Regions from separate parts of the Homo sapiens genome. Here region 2 is linked to region 1. The links are contacts of gene promoters, found by promoter capture Hi-C in blood cells and fetal thymus (Javierre and others, 2016). All regions are on one chromosome and are shown on one strand. Each heading gives the region's core, a stretch centred on a gene start or on the middle of the fragment in contact. The rest is flanking DNA. Distances are from core to core; before and after follow the strand shown.

Region 1 (2,760 bases), core at 113-2,612:
CTACTAAAAATACAAAAAAAAAATTAGCCAGGTGTGGTGGTGTGTGCCTGTAATCCCAGCTACTTGGGAGGCTGAGGGAGGAGAACCACTTGAACCTGGGAGTCGGAGGTTGCAGTGAGCCAAGATCGCACCACTGTACTCCAGCCTGGCAACAGAGCGAGACTCCACCTAAAAAAAAAAAAAAAAGAAAGAAAGAAAGAAAGAAAGAAAGAAAGAAAGAAAGAAAGAAAGAAAGAAAGAAAGAGAAAGAAACACATAGGGAGCTTTTCTTGTGCCCCAGCACTGTGTTTAGTGCTGTCTATGCATTATCTCATAATGTGGAAAAGCCATAGCGGCTCCATTTCACAGATGAGAAAAACTGAGGCCCGCAGGTGAGATCACTCATGCCCACTGGTCTGCCAGCTGGGGAGTGGCTGGGCTAGAGTTCAAACCCACTTCCAGTCCGACTGCACGGCCTGCACTCTCCACCCTACCATCTTCCACAGTCTCCTTGAATTCCTCCAGGGCGAGGCCACGCCAGCGCACAACTGCAGGGGGCGCCGTTCCCACAGCAGCCCTGCAAAGTGAGTGTGCCTGAGAAACTTCCGCCTCCCCTGCACCCAGCCCTGTTTAGGGCACGAGGCTGAATCAATGGTAAGTGACCATCTAATGGACCCACAACACGGTGACCTGGGGACAGTCATTTCTTTCTTTTTTTTTTTTTTTCTTTGAGACAGAGTCTCCCTCTGCCGCCCAGGCTGCAGTGCAGTGGCGCCATCTCGGCTCACTGCAACCTCCGCCTCCCAGGTTCAAGCGATTCTCCTGCCTCAGCCTCCCGAGTAGCTGGGATTACAGGCGCACGCCACCACGCCTGGCTAATTTTTGTATTTTCAGTAGAAACGGGGTTTCACCATGTTGGCCAGGCTGGTATCGAACTCCTGACTTCAGGTGATCCTCCCTCCTCGGCCTCCGAAAGTGCTGGGATTACAGGCGTGAGCCATGGCATCCGACCTGGGGACAGTCATTTCTTTGCCTGCACAGACTTTTTGGGGGATGCCACCCCTCACCCCTGCTCCCTTTGCAAGGAGAAGTGCCAAGAAGACCTTTCCCAACTCCCCCACCCCCCATTCTCTAAGGAATGAGGCCATCTTGCCATTTATTTATTTATTTGTCCGTTGTTTTGTTTTTAAATCTCTGATGCGCCATCAGAAAATTATTTCTGCCTCTGCCCCTGGCGTGGCTTTCGGAGATGCTTGTCTGTCAGCCAATGGGGAGGATCGGATTCTGGCAGGGGGCTGTGCTTTTCCGTCAGGCCGCCACCCCCCACCCCCTCCTCCCTGCACACAAAAGCAGCATAAATTAACCGTCTTCGGGAAGCCGAGCCTCTGCCAGCCCTGAGCTGGGAAGAAGCAGCTACCTCGGAGGCAGGGCGCGCAGGCGGGCGGCGATGAGAGGGGGCGCAGCCGCAGCCCCGCGCTGGGGAGCCCACCGCTAACCCTGCACCCCACCCACCCCTGCACAAAAGAGCTGGCGGGCGCTGGCCACGTCGCCCTGGGTGACCTTCCTCGGATGCAGAATCCGCCCCTGCGAGCATCCTCTTCCTCCTAGGCTCTGAAGGCCCGGGGAGCGTGAGCGATGCCCAGCTGCACCCGGGCAGGGCTCGCCTTTGTTTGCCAGTAAGGAGGAGAGGCTGTCTCAGCTGCAGAGGTGAGTGCGCGCATCTCCCCTTCTCCCAGGATAAACCGTCTCCCTGGAAGGTTTATCCGGCAGCCTTTGCCGCCTCTAAATCCCTTTCCAGCAGATGGGGCGGGTGGGAGCAGAGAGCCACGGTCTTGTGACTCCGTGAAGGCCCTCACATCCCTGTTCCCGGTACCAGGGAAAACCGTTCCCTGAGCTGCGCCCAGCAACACAGTTTACCTTCCGCGCGCACCGTTCCCCTCTAAGTGCACCATTTTCAGGACACGCTGAGAGCTCGGGCGGATGAAAACCTCAGCTTCTCTCTGGGACGCTGAAATAGACCCATCCTAGCCCTATGTATTTCCTATTTATAACGCTAGGAAGGCCACCAGCCGACGATTTCGGGAAAAAAAAAAAAAAAAAATCTAAGTGTGTCGATAAAGGCTGTCCTGTGGGGTGGGGAGGAAGGGGGTGGTTTATGGTTTAAGACACAGATGCCTCCTCCTTATTGGAACTCGTATGTGATTTGTTAATAATCAGACATCAGGGCTCAAATGAGCGCTTCACTCCCGTTCCTTGATGTCACTGTCTTCTTTTGGCCGTCCCCAAATGCGAAGCCAGGATCTGAGTGCAGGAGTGTCCGGGGCCCACTGAGGACCCACCCCACCCCATCCTTAGAAGACTGTGGAGTCAACGCCTGTGGCTGCAGCTGGCAGGGGGTGGGGGTCGGGGGCGGGGCTGGTGGGAGTGTTCCTGGGGGCTGAGGTCACACCCAGCTCAGTATAAGGAAGGGAGAGGCGAAGACCCCTTCCTCCGGAGAGCAAATGCGTTTCTACTGCCGAGGAGAACTTACCCTCGCGGGAAGGGCCTGGCTGGCTGCTGCCACCGCCCCCCCCCCGACCCCATAGCATCCAGGAGGGATTTTTTTTTTTTCCATGCTGCGTGTTACTGTCCCTCCTCCAAGCATGAATGACGACATTGAGGACAGAGAATCGAGTGAGAAACGCTCACCCTGTACGGGGGAGGGTCTAGTTTTAGCCGTCCCCTCCCCCCACTTCCTCATCTGGCTGAGGCTGCCTCTGGGTCCTTCCTTGCTAAGCCACA
Region 2 (2,760 bases), core at 142-2,641, 650 kb before region 1:
GATAGATGGATGGATGGTAGATGGGTGGATGGATGGATGGATGGATTGGTGGGTGAATGGATGAGCAGGTGGGTGGATGGATGGATGGATGGGCGGATGAATAGATTGGTGGATGATGGGGGAGCGATGGATGGGCATATGGATGGGTGGGTGGGTGGGTTGGTGGGTCAATGAGTGCATGGATGGATGGATGGGTAGGTGGGTGGATAGATGAGTGGATGGATGGATGGATGGATGCATGAATGAATGAGTGAATGAGTGAATGAATAGATGGATGGATGATGGGTAGATGGAGAAATTAATGGTTGGATGGATGGATGAAAAGATGGATGGGTAATTGGTGGATGGAATACTAGATAGATGGGTGGGTGCATGGATGAATGGATGGATGGATGATGGATAGAAGATGGGATAGACTGAAGGATGGAAGGATGCTTCCTCAACCTTTACTACCTTCCTCCTCACCTGGTGAATACGAATGTTCAGAACCTTTGCTCTCAGACAGGCTTGGTTCCAATCCTGGCTCCATTTTTAAATTTCTGTGTAATCCTGAAAAAGTCACCTCATCTTTTCTGAACCTTAGCTACTTTGTAAAAGAGAAGTAATACAGGTAGCTAGTTCACAGAGCAGTTGTCAAAATTGGAACTAATTTATATGATGTGGCCAGGCGTGGTAGCTCACACCTGTAATCCCATTGCTTTGGGAGGTTGAGGTGGGAGGATCCCTTGAGCCCAGGAGTTCAAGACCAGCCTGAGCAACACAGCTCTACAAAAAATAAAAACCATATCCAGGTGTGGTGGTGTGCAACTGTAGTCCCAGCCACTCAGGAGGCTGAGGAGGGAGGATTGCTTGATCACAGGAGTTAGAGATTACAGTGAACTATGATCGCACCACTGCATCCCAGCCTGCGTGATAGAGTGAGGCCCTTTACAGAGTGAGTCTGTAAAGAAAAAAAAAAATGTGGTGTGATTCATGTAATTAACCTGAATAATGACTTGCATATTGTAGGTGTTCTCCATAAATGGTCAGGCAGTCAAAATAGTCAACAGGCTGGCTGCAGTGCATCACGCCTGTAATCCCAGCACTTTGGGAGGCTGAGGTGGGAGGATTGCTTGAGCCCAGGAGTTCCAGACCAGCCTGGGCAACATAGCAAGACCCCTTCTCTACAAAAAATAAATTTAGGCTGGGCGTGGTGGCTCACGCCTATAATCCCAGCACTTTGGGAGGCCGAGGTGGGTGGATCACCAGAGGTCGGGAGTTCGAGACCAGCCTGACCAACATGGAGAAACCCCATCTCTGCTAAAAATACAAAATTAGCCGGGTGTGGTGGTGCATGTCTGTAATCCCAGCTACTCGGGAGGCTGAGGCAAGAGAATCGCTTGAACCCGGGAGGCAGAGGTTGTGGTGAGCTGAGATCATGCCATTGCACTCCAGCCTGGGCAACAAGAGTGAAACTCCGTCTCAAAAAAAATAAAAATTAAAATTAAAAATAAATAAATAAATAAATAAATAAATAAGTTTTTAAAAAAGCTGCACGTGGTGGCATGTGCCTAGAGCCCTAGCTGCTTGGGAGGCTGAGGTGCGAGGATGGCTTGAGCCTGGGGAGGTGGAGGCTACAGTGAGCCATGATTATGCCACTGCACTCCAATCTGGAAAACAGATCTAAACCCTGTCTCAAAATTCAAAAGGCAACAACTTTATTAAGTCTGTATTGTGTGCCAGCCATTGAGCGAGGCTTGAGGACATAAAGCAATTCAGGGGGTAGGAGAGACTGACGATAAACTAGGAAACAAATAAAGTTGAGATAGGTGTGAGGTGAGCTGCTGTGAACAAACAAACTAAAGATGTGTGTTGGGAGATGACAGCTTTCCTTGGGGGCCAGAGATGGCCTTTCTAGGAGGTGACGTTTGAGACGAGACCTGAATGACAGATGGGAAGGCTGTTATGCTACAACCAAGGGAAAGGCGTTCCAGGAAGAGTGCAGAGGCCCTGAGGCAGGACCACCACATCTGGTGTGTTGGAGGAACAGCAAGGAGGCCCTTGTGGCTGGAGCAGAGTGAGGAGGGGGAGAGAGGGAGGAGAAGAGGGCAGAGAGGGAGTCGCGCAGGTTGTTGAGCGGGTTCTGTGTGTCTTGGAAGGACTTTGGTTTTTACCCCAAGAGAGGTGGAGCCATGGAGACCTGTGGCAGGGGAGGGACAGGGTCTCTCAGGGGAATATGGACAATGTGGATTCTGGGTCCTCCATTTTTTAGATGGGGAAACTAAGGCACAGAAGGCCCTAGAATGTGTCAGGAAGTTCTGCCACTAGGCTTATGCCTGGCTCTTCTGAGGAGCTCCTGAAGACGGCGGCGCCTGGAGGTAGCTGGAAGACAGAGTGGAGCAGGCCCCTCAGTGCCCTCCCATTCTCCCAGCAGCCTTTGAGGGTGGGGTCTTTATATCCAAGAGGATTTGCATTCTTGTCCCTGACCCTCCACTAGGGGGAAGGACCAGAGGGCATGCCTCTAGCAGAGCTAGGAGCCACCAGAAGAACTTTGTACACATAGGGAAATGGAGGCCCAGGTAGAGGAGGGGAGGTCAATTCACCAGCTCTTGGCAAGGGAGGCGAGGAAGAGGAAGGGATCTAGTGATGTGGTTCGTTCTCTCTCTCTCTCTCTCTCCCTCCCTCTTTCAAGAGATTGGCATCTCACTATGTTGCTAAGGCTGGTCTCAAACTCCTGGGCTCAAGCAATCTTCCCGCCTTGGCCTCCCAAAGCATTGAGAT

What was found. Contacts are between HindIII fragments. The CHiCAGO score rates a contact against its expected background, and 5 or more counts as called.
Region 2: a fragment that was not itself captured here is called in contact with the fragment with the promoter of ATCAY in region 1 in 1 of 17 cell types (M0 macrophages); the score reaches 5.0 in M0 macrophages.

The regions. Positions count from the first base shown.
Region 1 is chr19:3,879,323-3,882,082 of GRCh38, forward strand. ATCAY (ATCAY kinesin light chain interacting caytaxin) reads left to right here and starts at 1,363. Exons shown (of 13, transcript NM_033064.5): 1 at 1,363-1,686. RefSeq lists an enhancer at 1,038-1,568. The HindIII fragment of the contact is 12,603 bases long and covers 1-2,760 here.
Region 2 is chr19:3,231,612-3,234,371 of GRCh38, forward strand. The region is part of intron 1 of CELF5 (CUGBP Elav-like family member 5); the gene reads left to right. Among named protein-coding and RNA genes, the nearest start is that of CELF5, 8.3 kb to the left of the region's middle. The HindIII fragment of the contact is 4,443 bases long and covers 1-2,760 here.